Regions from separate parts of the Homo sapiens genome. Here all the other regions are linked to region 4. Evidence: promoter capture Hi-C in 16 types of primary human blood cells and fetal thymus (Javierre and others, 2016). All regions are on one chromosome and are shown on one strand. Each heading gives the region's core, a stretch centred on a gene start or on the middle of the fragment in contact. The rest is flanking DNA. Distances are from core to core; before and after follow the strand shown.

Evidence for each region. The method cuts DNA at HindIII sites, captures the fragments that hold promoters and counts their contacts. A CHiCAGO score of 5 or more calls a contact.
Region 1: a fragment that was not itself captured here is called in contact with the fragment with the promoter of MAFB in region 4 in 1 of 17 cell types (monocytes); the score reaches 5.9 in monocytes.
Region 2: a fragment that was not itself captured here is called in contact with the fragment with the promoter of MAFB in region 4 in 4 of 17 cell types (M1 macrophages, M2 macrophages, M0 macrophages and 1 more); the score reaches 7.3 in M1 macrophages.
Region 3: a fragment that was not itself captured here is called in contact with the fragment with the promoter of MAFB in region 4 in 1 of 17 cell types (monocytes); the score reaches 5.3 in monocytes.
Region 5: a fragment that was not itself captured here is called in contact with the fragment with the promoter of MAFB in region 4 in 1 of 17 cell types (monocytes); the score reaches 6.3 in monocytes.
Region 6: a contact is called between a fragment that was not itself captured here and the fragment with the promoter of MAFB in region 4, in 3 of 17 cell types (monocytes, M0 macrophages and M1 macrophages). The highest score is 10.6, in monocytes.
Region 7: a fragment that was not itself captured here is called in contact with the fragment with the promoter of MAFB in region 4 in 1 of 17 cell types (monocytes); the score reaches 7.4 in monocytes.

The regions. Positions count from the first base shown.
Region 1 is chr20:40,427,091-40,429,790 of GRCh38, reverse strand. No RefSeq gene overlaps it. Among named protein-coding and RNA genes, the nearest start is that of MAFB, 260 kb to the left of the region's middle. The HindIII fragment of the contact is 2,522 bases long and covers 79-2,600 here.
Region 2 is chr20:40,957,983-40,960,682 of GRCh38, reverse strand. No RefSeq gene overlaps it. Among named protein-coding and RNA genes, the nearest start is that of TOP1, 69 kb to the left of the region's middle. The HindIII fragment of the contact is 7,671 bases long and covers 1-2,700 here.
Region 3 is chr20:40,397,329-40,400,028 of GRCh38, reverse strand. No RefSeq gene overlaps it. Among named protein-coding and RNA genes, the nearest start is that of MAFB, 290 kb to the left of the region's middle. The HindIII fragment of the contact is 2,531 bases long and covers 71-2,601 here.
Region 4 is chr20:40,687,959-40,690,658 of GRCh38, reverse strand. MAFB (MAF bZIP transcription factor B) reads left to right here and starts at 1,423. Exons shown (of 1, transcript NM_005461.5): 1 at 1,423-2,700. The coding sequence starts at 1,809. RefSeq lists enhancers at 1-232, 233-1,210 and silencers at 1,161-1,470, 1,491-1,560. The HindIII fragment of the contact is 7,144 bases long and covers 1-2,178 here.
Region 5 is chr20:40,377,677-40,380,376 of GRCh38, reverse strand. No RefSeq gene overlaps it. Among named protein-coding and RNA genes, the nearest start is that of MAFB, 310 kb to the left of the region's middle. The HindIII fragment of the contact is 2,861 bases long and covers 1-2,700 here.
Region 6 is chr20:40,340,202-40,342,901 of GRCh38, reverse strand. No RefSeq gene overlaps it. Among named protein-coding and RNA genes, the nearest start is that of LINC01370, 340 kb to the right of the region's middle. The HindIII fragment of the contact is 3,607 bases long and covers 1-2,700 here.
Region 7 is chr20:40,356,170-40,358,869 of GRCh38, reverse strand. No RefSeq gene overlaps it. Among named protein-coding and RNA genes, the nearest start is that of MAFB, 330 kb to the left of the region's middle. The HindIII fragment of the contact is 886 bases long and covers 909-1,794 here.

The sequences.
Region 1 (2,700 bases), core at 90-2,589, 260 kb after region 4:
CCCCTCCCCTGTCTTCTTCCTTCCTGTCTTTCCTTATGACAAACTGGCTCCCTTGCCCTTTCACCATGATTGGAAGCTTCTTGAGTCCCCTACCAGAAGCAGATGCTGGTGCCATGCTTTTTGTACAGCCTGTAGAATTGTGAGCCAAATATACCTCTTTTCTTTATAAATTACCTACTTTTGGGTATTCTTTTATAGCATTGCAAATCAGACTGAGGCAACCACTCAACCCTAGACTCTGAGCTCAGTGCTTGGCAAATGGTAGATACTCCATATTTTATTTTGAAAATTATTTCAATTGATTAATTAATTGATGGTCTGTCACCCACCTATATTTTTACCATTGAATTCCTTGACTGTGCATATCCCGAAGTGCTGAGAGTTGCATAAGCATGCAGAATTTCACACTGTTTTCTGATTAAGCCAGTTCTTTGTTATAAAAGGGAAGTAAAGAATTATATCCCCTCAATAGAGATATCCCAATAAAGCATCTTACCCTTCCCAATACTCTGGTCAATGGGTGTAAGCTCTACTTCTGTTTTTCACAAACCTAGTTAGAGTAGAGCTTGAATGACTGACAGACTTCAGGCACTTTCCAGAGCACATCCCACCACCAAGAGAAGGAGAGACATTTTTAACTGAATCCCAGATGGGCCACTTTTAAGCGCCATTGATGGGCAAGGGATTGCTTCTCTGATCCCCTGTTTTTCCATGGGTAAATTTACATAGTCAAGTTCACTTTCCAGAATTGTGAAGACTAAATGAAGTAATATATGTAAAGAGCCAGAACAGTTAGATTGTTTTTTTTTCTTCAACTTTTATTTTAAGTTCAGGGGTACATGTCCGGGATGTTCAGGTTAGTTACCTAGCTAAATGGGTGCCATGGTGGTTTGGTGCACAGATCAGCCCATCATCTAGGTATTAAGCCCAACATCCATTAGCTATTGTTCCTGATGCTCTTCCTTCCCCCACGACCTACCCCATCCTGACAGGCCCCAGTGTCTGTTGTTCCCCCTCATATGTCCATGTGTTAGATTTTTTGTGCCTTTTTTTTTTGTATCCCTCTTCCATACACAGTAGTCATGAATGGGCAAGAAGTAAACTTTAGCCTTGAGAGTGTGGGGGAGCCACAGGCTGGAGATGCAGTATTGTGTGTCCACCTTGTGCCCTTAGTCTAATGTCCTAGTATTTCAGTTACTGTCAGGGAAACCAGTCAGGGGGGACTGGGCACACAGGACACTTCATTTCTAGGAGTGGAGTACCCCTTAATGTTCTAAATGGACTGACACTAGATCAAGGAAAGAAACCAACAGAACTCTTTTTAGATTAGAGTCTCAAAGACTCAGACCAATGCCATGTGGGTTCATTTAGTAAAGTTTGAGCCCTTTACTTAACAGGCTACAAATTGACCTAAGTATCTTAACAGCAAGCACAGGATTTACCCCAGAAAAAGGTTTTGATAAATGATCGATGTATAAAGAAGCACAAATAACAGAGATTCTTTAGTGATTATAGATGGAATTTTTTTGAACTAAAATTGGTGCCCGCTTCTTCAGAGTACATACTTTAGTTACTTGATACACTATTAGACACTCTATCTAAAATTGGAATCTTTTGTTCTAATTACAAGCAACCTCATCAATTGATTAGAGAAACAACTTCAAACAAAGCAAACACAAATGCAGCAACTTCTTAATTTGTCAATGGAAGATAATGGCCTTGTTGGAGGACTGTTTTGAAGAGGTTCTCAGACTTGAGTGTTCATAGAAAATACCTGGGGAACTTGTTGACCTCTACCATGCCCAGACCCATCCCTAAAGAGTCAGATTCTTAGCCAGGTGTGGTGGCTCACACCTGTAATCCCAGCACTTTGGGAGGCCAAGATGGGCAGATCACCTGAGGTCAGGAGTTAAAGACCAGCCTGGCCAACATGATGACACCCCCGTCTCTACTAAAAATACAAATATTAGCCTGCCATGGTGGCAGTCACCTGTAATCCAAGCTACTCGAGAGGCTGAGACAGGAGAATCACTTAAGCCCAGGAGGTGGAGGTGAGCCAAGCTCACACCACTGCACTCTAGCCTAGGTGACAAGAGCAAAACTCCGTCTCAAAAAAAAAAAAAAATTAGATTCGGAAGGTCTTGGATGTGGCCTTTGAATCTCCACACTCATCAACCTTACCCTGGTAATTCAGAGGAAAAATAGCCCAGGGACCACAATTTAGAGGCAAATGGTTAGTGATTGTGGTAGTTGGAGTAATGCTCCGTAGAGAGGCCCCACATCCTAATCCTAGGACTTGTAAAAATGTTACCTTATTTGGCAAAATAAGATTAAAGTTACAGATGCAGTTAAACTTGCTAATCAGTTGACTTTAAAATGAGATTACCCTAGAATGTCTTCATGAGCCCAGTATGATCAAATGAACACTTAAAAATGGAGAAACTTTCCTGGCTGTGATCAGAAAGAGATATGTCGAGGGAAGAGGATTCAGAAAGATGTGATGTTGCTGGCTTTGAAGACGGAAGGAGTTAATGAGTCAAGGCATGTGGGTGGCCTCTAGAAGCTGGAAAAGAGAAGGAAATGGATTCTCACATAAAGCTTCTAGAAAAGAGCACAGCCTTGCTGACACTTGAGTTTCAGCCCAGTGATATCTGTGTTAGACTTCTAACCTACAGAACTGTAAGATATTAGATACGTATT
Region 2 (2,700 bases), core at 150-2,649, 270 kb before region 4:
GGTGGGTGGCTTACAGAAGATCCTGGCCCCTAGGCCTGAGAACAGAGCCCCAGGATGGCCTGGGCTCCCCCTCTCCACCTGGCAGTCCCCTTTGGCCTGGGTAAATCGGAAATGAGGGCGGCCGCAGTGAGTCCCAGCCCTCACCCTCCATGCTCGGCTGTTTTCTTGGCAGCAAGACCTAGGGAGGCTCCCATGGCTGATTTTAGATTTGTTTTCAAAAACTGAAAGGAGAGAAATAATCCTAGCGAGAAAACAAAACAAAACAATAAAAAACAAACAAAACCTCTTCTAAAATGTTTCAGTCCTGAGCCTTGTCCCCACTCTGTGTGCACTTTCTGGTATTTGACCACCTTTGCCACCAGCCCCTGCTGCTGGGACCTTGAGCCAGCCCCAAAGCTCGTGAGTCCCTGTCCTCTGCCGTGGAATGGGGATTACATTATACACATCTCTGGGTTTGGGAGGTGATGGAAGGAGATGGGGGAAAGGGATGCATTTTGTAAATGAGGCCTTCTGATGATAATTTTATCATAGGCAGTAGACAAATACACTCACACGCCCCCAAATCACTAATGGGACCTCCCTCTGAAGGTGCTCCTTGCTTCTTGAGACGGGCATGATTACTCAGTAGATTCTGTGTAATTATTTAATCAAGCTCCAGCGAGTCCTCAAGTCCTCGGTGTGGAGCTGGGCTGCTGACCAGGCCCCAACCTCCCCTCCTCCTGCAGGGAGGCATAATCAGAGATGCTGAGAGGGAGGAGAAGCCCCAAGCACTTCTTTTCTTTGTGCAACAACTGGGTTGTGTGGGAGGGACAGCCGGGAGGGAGGGGGCCAGGTCACCTTGGGGCTCTCTTCAACAGTGGACGGGGCAGGAGGGGTCTTTAGAGACCTGTTTATGCTGTGCCTTTCTCTTTGAGGACACTGAGGATCAGAGAGGAAAAGCCAGCACGTCCCATGATTTCCCAACTGCAGACTTGGCTTCTGCCACTCATTCCCTCCCTCCCTCCCTCCCTTCCTCCCTTCTTTCTTTCCTTCCTTCCTTTCTTCCCTCTTTCCTTCCTTCCTTCCTTCTTTCCTTCCTTCCTTCCTTCCCTCCTCCTTCCTTCCTTCCCTCCTTCTTTCCTTCCTTCCTTCCCTCCTTCTTTCCTTCCTTCCTTCCTCTCTTCCTCCCTCCCTTCCTTCCTTCTCTCCTTCTCCTTCTTGACCCTCCTTTCCCATTGATTCCCTTCCCCTCCCCTTCCCTCCCTTTCCCTTCCCTCTCCTCCTTTCTCTCTTATAATGAAAGTACTGAACAGATGGCTGGGTGCAGTGGCACAGGCCTGTAATCCCAGCACTTTGGGAGGCTGAGGCTGGTGGGTCACCTGAGATCGGGAGTTTGAGACCAGCCTGGCCAACATGGCGAAACCTCATCTCTACTAGAAATACAAAAATTAGCTGGGCGTGGTGGTGGGCACCTGTAGTCTCAGCTACTTGGGAGGCTGAGGCAGGAGAATTCCTTGAACCCGGGAGGTGGAGGTTGTAGTGAACCGAGATGGCGCCACTGCACTCCAGCCTGAGCGACAGAGTGAGACTCCTTCTCAAAGAAAACAAACAAAGAACAAAAAAGTACTGAACAGATGCATGCATTCTCATGGTCAAACATGCAGATCATACAACAAAAGCAAAGGTCTCCCCAGATCCCTCTCTTCCCCCCCACCCAAATTCCCAATTCCCTCCTCAGAGACAACCCCAGCTCCCAGTTTGGAGACTCCCTTCAGACTTTCTGCTATGCATTCATACATTTACCTAAGTTCCTATAGAAGTTCTAGTTAGGTGTTTACTTTGGTTCATGTAAACATTCCTGACAATGCTGTCTAGACCAGTTCTCACTGTGGGGGGTGGGAAAGCGGGATGGGGAGGGAATTTTACTCCCCAGGAGACATTTGACACCATCTGAAGACATTTTTGATCATCATGGCTGGGGAGGGAGGTGCTCCTGGCATCTGGTGTGTAGAGTGCTAAAGGAGTGTTGCTAAACAGCCTGCCTTGCCCCGGACAGCCCCCAACACGAAGAATGATCCGGCCCAAAATGTCAGTAGTGCCAAGGTTGAGGAATCCTGGTCTGGAACGTTCTCAACTTGCTTTTTTCTAATAATAATAATGATTAATAATAATAATATATCTTGGAAATCTTTGCAGGTTAGGCAATATCTTTCTCTCATTCTGATGACTTCTGTGTCTTCTTTTGACTACATCACAGTCCATCCATCTCATCCCCTTTAGATTGATTTCAGGTTGTTTGTGACTTGGCGGTATTAATAGAAACATCCTTGTTATTCCCTGGTTTGGATGCTTGGGAGTGGGATTGCTATGTCAAAGGGGTAGTTATTGGTTGATTGATTTACTAAGTCCTCATATAGTGCTTCTATTTTAAATACAACAGGCACTTATTTATTATTGTTATTATTTTGAGATGGAGTCCTGTTCTGTTGCCCAGGCTGGAGCGCAGTGGCACAATCTTGGCTCACTGTAACCTCTGCCTCCCAGGTTCAAGCGATTATCCTGCCTCAGCCTCCCGAGTAGCTGGGATTATAGGCGCGCGCCAAGACGCCTGGCTAATTTTTTTGTATTTTTGGTAGAGACGGGTTTTCGCCATGTTGGTCAGGCTGGTCTCAAACTCCTGACCTCAGGTGGTCCGCCCGCCTCAGCCTCCCAAAGTGCTGG
Region 3 (2,700 bases), core at 87-2,586, 290 kb after region 4:
AAAGCTCTGGTCCTGATGTTCATTCTTCAACTGAAGGGGCAAGGGAAATCTGTTTCCTCCTCCAGAAGCTTCTGCCATGGGACTGCGTAATACAGAGGTATCTCCTAGTGTGGGAAATGGACAGATGGTGGTGATGCTTTAGTGCACCAGCTCACTTTCCAGTTATGTTCTCTTTCTCTGGGAGAGAGAGACAGGGAGAAAGAGAGAGGGAGTTGAGGGAGAAAAAAGAGGTGGATGACATGCAGCATGAGCTGTGCACTAGTTGTGGAGAATACGACTGCCTGTTGGTCCACGGCAAATTCTAAATTAAAAAACAAACAGGGCCGGGTATGGGGACCCACGCCTGTAATTCCAGCACTTTGGGAGGCTGAAGTGGGAGGATCACTTGAGGCCAAGAGTTTGTGACCAGTCTTGGCAACAAAATGAGACCCCATCTCTATTTAAAAAAAAAAAAAAAAAAGAAAAGCCAGGAGTGGTGGCACATGCCTGTGATCCTAACTATTCAGGAGACTGAGGCAGGAGGATTTCTTGAGCCTGGTTCCAGGTTAGAGTGAATTAGGATCACATTACTATACTTGAGCCTGGGTGACAGAGTGAGATCCTGTCTCTAAGAAAAAAAATTAAAAAAGAACCCCTCCAAATCTCTTTAAGAAACTTGTTTTATGCCACAAATAAATTTGTGAAACACTATTCAATATGACAGTAATTCAATGTTAGACTCCTAAATAAACAACAAAATATCCAGTTGGCTACTAATTTTATATATATATATATATATATATATATATATATATATATATATATATATATAAAAGAATTTTCTACCCTTCTGTCCATACCCTGCAGTTTCATATCACACAATGATCTGAAATTCTAAGAAATTCTCCATTAAAGGAACCACTTTACATTTGTTTAAGCCAGTGTTTCTGCAGTTGAATTTGGCTGAAAAGATTTTTTTCAGCCTCACTTTGTGGGAAAGGTGGGAAGAAGAGCTCATTAGCAGTGAAGGGTGATAGGCAGTTCCTCACCTGCACTCCGTAACTCCAAGAGTAGGACATCTGGTTTTCCTAGTTGAATTTTGAAATTGCACCATCCCCTTCAGGCTTCGTCTGCCAGTCATTCCCTTGAGCCCTCAGATTCTGTGCTGGAGAAGGAAGGCAGAAATAATACCACATCATCATCAAGGTTTGCAGCGTAGGAAAGCAGACAGCTCCAAGTTTACGTCATGAAGATTCTATGATGAGGCCTGTGGAGCTATGAGAACAGGATGAACAAGACACTCATCTACTGGGTGTCTGTCTACCTACTTATCCCCTTCTATTCCTTCTTTCCATGGTAATTATCGAGCCTCTAAGAGGTTAAGGATGTAGTTGAAAGTTGAATACACTCTGTTCTTATGTTCTTATGTTCTTATTCTTTTTTTTTTTTTTTTTTTTTGAGACGGAGTCTGGCTCTGTTGCCCAGGCTAGAGTGCAGTGGGGCGATCTCCGCTCATTGCAAGCTCCGCCTCCCGGGTTCACGCCATTCTCCTGCCTCAGCCTCGCGAGTAGCTAGGACTACAGGCGCCCGCCACCACGCCTGGCTAATTTTTTGTGTTTTTAGTAGAGACGGGGTTTCACCGTGTTAGCCAGGATGGTCTGGATCTCCTGACCTCGTGATCCGCCTGCCTCAGCCTCCCAAAGTGCTAGGATTACAGGCGTGAGCTACCGCGCCCGGCCCTAAATACACTCTGTACTTATTCTGAAGGCACCCATGATCTAGAGGGGGTCATAGGTAAGTAAGTAAGCCATTTTGCTCAGTTGGGTTAGATGCATGGTGGAGAGAAAAAGGGCCATGGGTGTGACAAACGCAGAGGGTTGTAGCCTACACAATCTGCAAGGTTGAAGGAAGAGTCAAGAAGACTTCCTCAAGGAAGAGCAGCCAAGATGAGTACTGAAGGATCAAGGAGTCAGCTCAGTGAAAGGAGGTGGAGATCAGGGAGTCCCAGGCAGACGCTTTTCCTGTGGCTTCTTTGAAAACTCTAGTGACAATGGCAATTCTGAACCAAGGAGGCAACTCTGGCTGAGGTGAGACTTACTTTTTATTTCCTCTCCAGTTGCTTCAGAAAACTCAGTTTTCTTGCCCGGACAAGTGCCAGATTTACAGAGCCCTTATAGCCAATTTCAGCTGGGTCCCTGCTGAGGGAGGCAGTAACCTTCTTAATGGGAATGTCTCCAACAGGAGGGGTCAGGGGCACCCAGCACTTTTCTTGTGTAAAATTAATTAAGCTCCAAGGTCAGGAGGTGATGGGTGGGCTCCTTAGAACAAATGATTTCTGTTTGAGTAAAAATGGCTTTGGGGTTCTTTCCAGATCTTGCCTAATTCAGTAATTATGTCTGCCCCATGCTTTAAGCAAACAGCAGTAAAATAAGTGTGTTTAGAGATAAGGGAAGGGGTGAGAGGAGACTCAGTTGAGCTGGGTTGGGTTTTTGTTTCAGCTGGGGCTTGCAGAAGGGCTAGGCTCATGATTCTCTGGCTGGATTTCTTGGAGGCATGCTGTGAGCATAGATATGTCCATTCTAGGAATCTTAAGCTGTGAGCTGGGTCTCATGCATAGAAGCTTTCAGGAAATGTTTGCTGTCATCATTATCATTGTTGTAGTGGAAACTGTGGCTGTCTCTCCAGCATCCACTTTTATAAAAACCTTACTTTGTTATTATT
Region 4 (2,700 bases), core at 174-2,673:
AGCCATCCTGGATCTGGGTAGGGAGGGTGCGCGGCTCCCAAGCCCAGTCTGGATGCCTAGTGCGGTGTGCTTCGGTCTCCCCGTCTGCCCTCCGGGGAGGTTTCTCACCCGGTGGCCCTGGGCCGCTTCACTGTGGCGCTTCCACTTTTGGCTACCGGCCTTCCTCCGCCCAGGACCTTCCGGCCCAGGGAGCAGCCGACGGGCACCCCCGAACGCTGGGGCACGGAATTTCAACGGGGCGACCAGAGCGGAGCTCGCGGCTCGAGGCTCGCGGCTGAGTACGAAGACGGGACCCGAGGACCTGTACATCGCTCGAGGGGAACCTGTCCTGGGCTCTGGTGCACACATAGTATGCGTTCTGGGCTGGCTTGGGTTGGGCCAGGTAGGGGAGACCTGGCTGGGTACGAGGCGCCGTCCAAGCCTTCCGGCCGTGGGCCGGGCGGTCGCGGCGCCTTTGCGCACAGTGGCCACTTGGGGTCGCACTTTATGCCTGTTTGAGCCTCTCCGCGGCGGGCTGACGCCGGGATCTGCTTAATCGTTACAAAACGTTCAAACAAAAACAGGGCCGGCTCCCCAGCAGTGGAGAGCTACTCGGAGCACCGTCCCGGGCCGGCCTCGGCCCCGAGGCTCCGGGGGCTCAGGATTCCGTGCGTGTGGCGGGGAAGAGGAATTCAGAGCCTTTGGGCTGCTGCTTTTCCCGTCGCCTTCACTGTGAACATTGTGCGGTGGGGTGAACGCGGGGAGCGGCGGGGCCAGTGGAGTCGAACCTCAGGGCTCTGCGACTGCACCCGCCAGGAGGGGCCCTCGCTTGGCCTGAGAAAGGTCCCCTGAGGTTAAGAGTTGGGTCTGAACACAACTCTCGGAGCCTCGAGCCCGCCCTCCCCAACATACAAATACGCGCAGATCTCCAGAAACAGGAACGCACGACACACACGGCCAGAAGCCGCGAGGACACACAGAGCGTCGCCCACTGGGCGGGGGCCGCTTGGGAACAAAGGGCCCAGGAGGCGTTGTCCCGGCGCTCATTCTGAGCCTCCTTGGGGGTGACACGGGATGGGGGTGGGGTGCAAAGGGAACTGAGGGAGGAGAGTGCGCGAGGAGGGGAAAGCGGTGATTTGGCCTAGAGGTGGGGCGCGCACTCCAGGCGAGCGTGCGTGGGCCGGGACCTGCAGGGTACGGGGGTGGGCCCAGGCTGGCCGTCCCACTCCGCTCCAGCGCTCCGCCAGGCCTCCGCCGCTCCGGGGCCGCTCGGGCCGCCAGTCAGCTGACGCGGGGGGCGGGGGAGCTGTCAGGCGCGCCCCGCCCTGCGCCGCTGGGCCGCGGAGGCCGTGCAGCTATTGGCCCGCGCACCGGGCCGCCCGGGCCCCCGCACCCCAGTGACATCAGGAGGCGATAAAAGGCTGCGGCGCCGCCGGATCCAGCACAGCTGCACCGCCGAGCTGCGAGCGGCTGCGAGCGAGAGAGCGTAAGAGCAAGAGAGCTAGAGAGCGAGCAACGGGCACTCGCCCCACGCCTCCCCTCAGCCCCACCGCGCGCTCCGCTTGCCTCTCCACCCCGCCCGACTCTACCCGGCCCGGTCCCTGCGCGGGCACAGCCCAGAGCTCTGGGGCGGTGCAGGCAGCCTCGGGACTCTCCGGCGCGCCGCCGCGTCCCCAGACAAAGGCTTGGCCGGCGGCCCCGGCCCGCTGCGCCCTCGCTCCCCGCCTCCCCAGCTCTTCTCCGCTCTTCCCCCCCGCGCTTGGCTCGGCGCGCTCCGGCCGGCCGCAAAGTTTCCCGGGCGGCAGCGGCGGCTGCGCCTCGCTTCAGCGATGGCCGCGGAGCTGAGCATGGGGCCAGAGCTGCCCACCAGCCCGCTGGCCATGGAGTATGTCAACGACTTCGACCTGCTCAAGTTCGACGTGAAGAAGGAGCCACTGGGGCGCGCGGAGCGTCCGGGCAGGCCCTGCACACGCCTGCAGCCAGCCGGCTCGGTGTCCTCCACACCGCTCAGCACTCCGTGTAGCTCCGTGCCCTCGTCGCCCAGCTTCAGCCCGACCGAACAGAAGACACACCTCGAGGATCTGTACTGGATGGCGAGCAACTACCAGCAGATGAACCCCGAGGCGCTCAACCTGACGCCCGAGGACGCGGTGGAAGCGCTCATCGGCTCGCACCCAGTGCCACAGCCGCTGCAAAGCTTCGACAGCTTTCGCGGCGCTCACCACCACCACCATCACCACCACCCTCACCCGCACCACGCGTACCCGGGCGCCGGCGTGGCCCACGACGAGCTGGGCCCGCACGCTCACCCGCACCATCACCATCATCACCAAGCGTCGCCGCCGCCGTCCAGCGCCGCTAGCCCGGCGCAACAGCTGCCCACTAGCCACCCCGGGCCCGGGCCGCACGCGACGGCCTCGGCGACGGCGGCGGGCGGCAACGGCAGCGTGGAGGACCGCTTCTCCGACGACCAGCTCGTGTCCATGTCCGTGCGCGAGCTGAACCGCCACCTGCGGGGCTTCACCAAGGACGAGGTGATCCGCCTGAAGCAGAAGCGGCGGACCCTGAAGAACCGGGGCTACGCCCAGTCTTGCAGGTATAAACGCGTCCAGCAGAAGCACCACCTGGAGAATGAGAAGACGCAGCTCATTCAGCAGGTGGAGCAGCTTAAGCAGGAGGTGTCCCGGCTGGCCCGCGAGAGAGACGCCTACAAGGTCAAGT
Region 5 (2,700 bases), core at 174-2,673, 310 kb after region 4:
ACTGTTAAATCTATTTTGAGGGACAAACTCCATATTTGAATAAAATGATAATTCTACTTAACAATTATAGAATGGAATACAATGTAGCAAATAAAAACAATGAATGAGCACTCTGTATACAAACATAGAAAGTTCTTTAATACATATTTTAAATGGCAAAGACAATAAGGTTTACAATGATATATTTCACATGATGGCTGTTATGTTAAAATACAATAAAATCTTATACATGTCTAGAATTTTTAAAAATGGTGATTTGGAAAGATACACACTAAATTGGAAACAGTGCTTATCTCTAGGAAAAGGAAGGAGGGAAAACAGCTGTCAAATGGGACTTTTGCTCTTTAGGAATTTTTACAATTAGAATAAGTTCACATCCTACCACACAAAAGGATACACAAAAATTCTCATAGTAGCTTTGTTCATAAGAGACAAAGCCTAGAAATAACTCAAATGTCCAGTTAAGAGTAGAATGGGTTGGATGCATTGTGGTATATACACACAATGGAATACCAGGTAGCAAAGACCGTAATGAACGCAACAACATGGATTAATCTCTCAGACATAATTTTGAATAAAAGAAAATGCAAGGCAGGGCACCGTGGCTCACGCCTGTAATCCCAACACTTTGGGAGGCTGAGGTGGGTGGATCACGAGGTCAAGAGATCGAGACCATCCTGGCCAACATGGTGAAACCCTGTCTCTACTAAAAATACAGAAAAATTAGCTGGGTATGGTGGCGCATGCCTAGAGTCCCAGCTACTCGGGAGGCTGAGGCGGGAGAATTGCTTGAATCTGGGAGGCGGAGGTTGCAGTGAGCCTGGGCAACAGAGTGAGACAGTCTCAAAAAAAAAAAAAAAAAAAAATCCAAAAAGGTGTTTACAGTGTGATTTTATTTATAGAAAATTTAAAGACAGATGAAACCGTTGAATGATGCTGTAAGTCAGCATATTGGCTATCTTTGGAAATCTGAAAGATATACTCCAAATCATAGACCAATCGGGTGAAAGCACAGGGGAACCCTCTGGAGTGCTGAAAAGTTCGACTTGATTTGTGTGGTAGTTACGTGCATACATATGTAAGAATTCATTGAATCATACACTTAAGATTTGCGTACTCTGTAAGTTGTATCTGCATAAAAAGAATACACTCATATTACTGAATAAACTGAATAAATAACAAGAAAACTAAAACAAAAGGATTAAAGATAAAATGAAAAGTTTCTCATGAAAAATAAAGTCTATAAAGATGTGCTTTTCACAGAGTTTTGTGTCTAGATCCACTAAGTTAAAAAAATCTATAAAAATTGGTTTAAATGATGATATACCCCTATTCTACAGTACAGAAGCATAATAGAAAGTACCTCCCTAAAATCAAATGGCAGGATTACTGTGATGAAAATCTATCTAAAGATAGCTACAGTATCAAAAATTATAAAAATGCATATATAACAAATAATATTAGAGAGGCACAAATTGAGATAATCAAATAATAGAGTGACAGAAATGCAAAATATGCATGTATAAGATAACTAAAAGCATAGGTAGTATAGGAATAAATACACTATTAAGATCAAGGCACTGAGTGAATGAATAGATTAAACTGAAATAGAATCAAATAAAATTTTTAAAGATAAAAATACATGGTTTGAAATTATCCCCTCAATTGACATAATGAAGAACATATATGAAAAAAAAAAAACAAAAGAAAATTAGGTAACTTGGAGATATATGTGAGTACCTCAAAGATAAAAGAAAGCTATTTAAAACAACTTGGGATAAGCAGGTTGTTTATAAAGGAAAGAATTGTACTGACAGCAAACTTCTTAACAGCAATCAGAAATTCCAAAATACTGTCTTATAATACCCTCAATGGGATGAGAGAAAATTTGCCATTATCCCAGAATCTTATATCCAGCTGAAGTATCATTTCAGTATGATGGTGAACTATAGATATTGTCATAGAAACAAAGACTAAGTGAACTTACCACTTACAGATGTTCCCTGGAAGAGATACTAAAGATTACATTTCAGGAAAAATAAGAATCGAATTCATAAGGACAGAGAGGAGCAGAAGAAGCACTGATAATCATTGACATTAGGAAACTTCTTTCTTTATTTATTTTTAGTTAATTTATTTTTTATTGAGACAGGGTCTCACTCTGTCACCCAGGCTGGAGTGCAGTGACACCATCTTGGCTCACTGCAACCTCTGCCTCCAGGGCTCAAGTGATCCTCTCACCTCAGCCTCCCAAGTAAAATTTTTAAAGACCACAGGAGTGTGCATTCATGCCCAGCTAAGTTTTGTATTTTTTGTAGAGACAGGGTTTCACCGTATTGCCCAAGTTGGTCTTGAACTCCTGGGCTCAAGTGATCCACGTGCCTCGCCCTCCTAAAGTGCTGGGATTACAGGCATGAGCCACCTTGCCCAGCCTATGTTAGTTAACTTATAACTAGATCTATAGAAGCATTGATAGTATGAAATAAAAATAACAATGACTGCATTGAGTTCTACAAATAGCAGGTAAAATAGAATGGGACATTTGGAGCTGGAGGATTCCAAGTTCTTAAATTGTTTTGAACAAGCATTGAGATATTAATCACTTTATCCTTCCTAAGCCACTTGTTCATATTAAATATTTGAAGTATCCATTCAGAATTAATAAAAGAACATTACTTTTCCAAAACAATCAGAGGCTAG
Region 6 (2,700 bases), core at 163-2,662, 350 kb after region 4:
TCAGGCAGTCATATCTCCCTTTCTTTAGGGTTAGTTACTAGTGCTTTATCTTGTTCATTTGGTGGTGTCATGTTTCACAGATAATTTTTTTACCCTTCTGGCCATGTCTTATGATTGCAAGTTCAAAGAAGTAGGCACCTATTCCAGTTTTTACAGATTGGCTTTGGCAGGGAAAACTCTCCAGTCTGGGTTGAGTTCTGAGATTCTGAGTTGACCATTTTGTAAGTCCCAGTGGTGGGTTTGCTGCTAGAGTCCTAGGGCAGGCTGGCCTGGTGTCTGGGTCAGAATGTGTGCAGGTCTGGTACCTGGGTCCACAGGGACCTGCTTAAAGCTGAGTGTATGGGGATCGGGCCTGGATCCTGGGTCCATAAGAGCCAGCCTGGTGCTGAGATGGGCCTTGAGCCTGAGTCATCAGGGGATGGCCTTTTGTTGGAATAGACTTGCCACCTGGGTTCGTGGAGATAGTCCTGGAACTTGAGTCTTTGCAGGGCTGGCTTGGTACTGGGGTGGGCCTAGAAAGTGAGTCTGCAGGAGTGAACCTAGTTTCTGGGTCTACAGTTGCTGGTCTAGTGCCTGGGGCCACTGGGGCCAGCCTGGAGTCTGGGGCTACAGGGGCTGACCTGGAGCCTGGGGTTATGGCAGCTGGCCTAGAGCCTGGGGCTGCTGGAACCAGCCAGACGTCTGAGGCTTCATGGGCCAGCCTAGAACTGAGATCTGCAGGTGTTGTTCTGGCACTGAGGAGGTCCTAGAAGGTGGGTCCTTGGGTGTCATTATGGGGCTGTAGAGAATGGCCTGGAGCCTGGAGCAATGGGTCTGGTCTGACAGTAGGGTAGGCCTGGAGGCATGATCCATGGGTGCTGACCTAGAGTCTGGGGCTGTGGAGGCTGGCCTAGTGCTGAATTTCATTGAAGCTGGCCTGGTGCTGGGGTTTGTAGCAAAGCCAGGTGCTTATTTCACTTTCCCTCCCACATGTGGAGGTTATCTCTCCATGTTGTGCTGCCCAGGCTTAAGGGAGGGGTGACTCAGATAATGTGAAGCTGTCCTTCCTAGCCTCTTCAATGTGTCAGTTCTTATTTCTTTGCTACTCCAAGTTGCTGTAATCTCTCACCTGGGTTTCCTTAGCTCTTATGAAATTATTTTTGTGCAAGGATAAATTGTCCAAATTGATGTTCCTCCTAGGGGATGAGTGCTGGAAAGTCCTATTCTGTCATCTTGCTGATGTCACTCTCCCTATACATTTTAGTTTCTTCATTTTTTGTATCACTTCTTGTTCCAAATGATATGCCTCTCTGCTCATAGATTACATATGATTAATAATATTTAGAGAAAGCAATTAATTTGATGGTTTTAAAATTTTATTTATTGAAGAAGTATATTTTGGCCGTGGAAACTTTGAGGAACATTTGCTGTTGTTTGGGAGGAAAGAGGTTATTCATTCATTCATAGTGCAATGCATGCATATAAGACGTACTTATTAAAGAGTGCCTTTTAAGCTATTATTAATGTTGTTCATATAGTAACATATTAATAGTAATAATCACGCTGGGCTAGTATATGAAGAATGTGAGCTGTAAGAAAGTCATTACTGGGTTCATGTTCTAGCAGTTAGAAACCGTCTCTGAGTAAGGTACTAAATTTCTCCAGATTTGAATTGTGTCATCTGTAGGATCAGAAGGTTAGACCTATCTTGCCAGTGTGAATGAGAATTAAAATGATATGCCATGGTTCAAAGGCATGCAGCAGGCATTCAACATATGTGTATATTAAACATATATCTTTCTACTTTTCTTAAAATCCCATTAATTTTTTTAGTTAAGTCTTTTTGATTTCTCCATACAGATAAATTCATCTGCAAGGAGGGACAATTTTAGCTTTGCTTTATTAAAAGTTAAACATCTTTTTTTTCCTTATCTTATTGTGGATACTAGAACTTGTAGAACAATAATAAACTATAATGATGTCAGTCTACTTTTTCTACTGTTTTGCCTCATTGGGAATGATTTTATTATATTTTAATAAGGTACAATTTTGTTGTCAAACTCTGGTAGCATTATCATAGTCAACATTTTTTCCTATTTTTACTTTAACAAGGGTTGTTTATCTTTTTGTTTTCCTAATGAGGAATGTATGTTGACTCTTGTTATCTGTTTTTTTCATCAGTTTCCAAAATAGTCGTCTTTTTTTTTTGGTCTTTTTCTTTTTCTTTTTTTTTCCCTACTAAGTTGAATAATTGAGACTGCTAATGCATAACCATCTTTTAATTACTGGCGGCAACTGTACCTGTTCTATTTGTTAATAATAAACATAAAATGTTATTCTCCTTATCGTCTAGTCACTGGTCTTATAGCAGTCCATCTGTCTTCTCTCTCTGTTGTCTACATCTCATGTTTTTTTGCACAGTGCTTTTAGGGGGAGGGAGAAAATGGCAAGGATGCCCACTTGCAAGTGCACATGGAGGGAGATTGCCACAGGACTAGCTGGGCATTTAGAGAGATAAACCCACAAGTTCCTGGTCCCTGTTATTAGGAGATTTGGAGGCCTCTGGGTGTCTGTTCTCTTATGCCATTCTGTCCCCTGCAAATTGCTGCTGCAGCAGCCTCTGACCAGCTGCCAGGCACCTGACTTCATGTTCCTCTGACCACAGAGGACCAAAGCCATGTCTGCCCAAGACTGTTTCCATAGAAATGCAAATACATAGCA
Region 7 (2,700 bases), core at 102-2,601, 330 kb after region 4:
CAAAATTGCCTCTGGCTGAGAACCACAAGTCTAGGAGATAGACTCACATATAAGAGACTCTGGGGGGTGTGTCTGTGTGTGTGTGTGTGTGTGTGTGTGTGTACACATGAATTCGTGTGTGTGTGTGAAGAAATGTCTTTTTCATTGGAAGCTAATCACGCATAACTCAAGTGAAGAACAAAGCACAGATTGTTAATTTTCTCCCATAGTTCTCTCCCAGCCCATCCACCATGTGTGTACATTTTAACACACTCTTTTACAAAACTTCCCACAAACACCTTGGGGAGCGTATTCTCTAGAGACCCATGAATTCCATGCTAGGTTGTTAGCTTTATCTAGCATCTCCCAATGATGCTCATATTCATTCATCCATTCATTCATTTCATAAATTTAACATACGTATGGGGCTTCCACTATGTGTTAGACGCTATGTTAAGATTGGGGACAAGACGGATAAGGACATGGAGCTTGCATTCTAGTGGGAGGGGACAGAAAATAATAACTAACACATAAATTCAATAAGACCTAGGAAATAACATGGGCGATGGGATAGGGAAGTAACTGGGGATGAGAAGAGCTGTATCAACTCAAGTGATCAGGGGAGGCTGGTGTGGCGAGGTGATGTTTAGGCTGAGATGCTCTGAGTGAAGTTCTTGGGGAGGATGATTGTGGCACAAACTGGATCAGGCCATTGACTATCCCAGGTTCAGAACTTAATACTATAGCTGTGTCTTGCTGCTGTGCTAAAGAACCGCTCCTGGCTGTGAATATGAGGCTAGTGAGAGAAGTAGTTCTGAAATTCTTATTGAGAATCTAAAGTTTTGTACTCTCTCAATAGAAAAGGTATGTACCCACGTGCTTATGAATACTTACAATTTCAGGGGGTTAATGACACGTTTAATGAAGCTTTTTTTCTTGACTATTGATTTAGAAACCCAACTACCAACATTAGTCATAGTCTTCATGGCTTATGTGAATTCCTGGTGAGGATTTGTGGAAGGGGAGCTGGGGAAGAATGGGGGATTACTTGCTAATCACTTCAGGTGGATTGATAGTGTAGTAGGTTAGATAATTGTTCCCAATGCTTCACTCTCCCTAGTATTAGTGTCTAGCCACTCCCTTGCTACGGCCTTACAGTGGGCAGAATGTACCGTCTCACCTCTTGACATTGGCCTTGTGACTTTATTGGGCCATTACTGGGCACTGTGTTTGTGTGGTTGGGCTTTCCCTCTGCATTTCTGCCATCACCTGAAAAGAACATACCCTCAGTGGCTGCTGCCCTTTCAGCCTGGTCTCAGGATGAGGCTGGATCCACACCCCTTTGTCCTGCAGCTTCAAGCAGAGCCACCCCAGGGAACCAATTCTAGATCAGATGAACACAGTCAGCCTATAAATTTGTGTACATGAGAATGAAAGTGGAGTTGGAAGGCAGTGAGTTTGGGGCTGGTGTGTTACATAGCATCTTTGTGGCAGGAACTGCCTAACATAGGTTTACATGTAACAACCATATATATCACCTGAAACATACTGAGCGTGTGTGGAGTTCTGAACTTAAATGGTGCCTATAAATGGCCCAGGGGATCCCACATGAGCACAACTGTCTGATTAAGCCATCTTCATTTCACAATGCTGGAATGATGTCTGCACTTTTTGTATTCCTTGTAAAATTTCTATTGCACAAATTACAGGATGAAAAAAACAAAGTGGGAGAGGAAAGTGAGAGGGGTGAAAGAGAGATCAATTTTGTCCTATACTGCAGAAAGTTTGGAGAAGCTAAGGGCTAAGATAAAAGCTTTGGCTACTGCGGAAAAGGGAAGAAAATACATAAAGAGGGAAATTGAACTAATATGTATTGGGTGCCACATACCATGCCAAATGCTTTACATACATTGCTTGACTGAATTCTGTTCAAAAACAAATAAATAAACCAACAAATCCTTATAACACATCATGATGCCATTTCACAGATAGAAAAACTGAGGCTCAGAAGGTTTAAATAAATTTTTCTTGGTTACTCTGATGTGGATACTAGGTTTCAAATCTAGCTCTTGTCTACAAAAGTCATGCCCTGCCCATGAGTTGATATCATTTCCCTATGAGGATGAGCAGCTTAGCATTTTACTGGGGGCAGAGTACATGCAAAATTTCATGGGGCTAAGAAGGGACAGGGCAGTATAGATGTACACTATTTTTAGAGTTGAAACCTTTGAAGAGGAAAAGAAAGAGAGTGGGTGGATGGTAGCTTGAGCAGATAGGCACTGGAATTCAGATTTAATTAACTGAGCATATCCAAAAATATTGAATTGTCACAGTACCTACCTTCAGATGTGGCATTGGGTTACTGATTACTTTCTTTTCTATTTTGATCTATACACCTGTCTTATCCCTCAGACTTGAAGACAAGGGTCATTAACTTTTCTTAAATAGGCAATATGTGCACAGGGTGACAAATTCAGGTAGTATAATAAGCTGTAGTGAAAAGTAAGTCTCCCTTCTCCTCCTGTCCCCAAGTCCCACATCTTGAGTTAACCACTATTATCAGGTAAGGGGGATTTTTCAACTTTCCATGTAAGTTTGAGAACTTGGAAGCCTTGTTACTTTAGAACGTCCACTGTACCTCTCTAAGCCTCATTCGTGCATTAACTAAACACATACTTATTACATGTCTATCAGGGGCCAGGACTTAGTTTTCCTATCTGT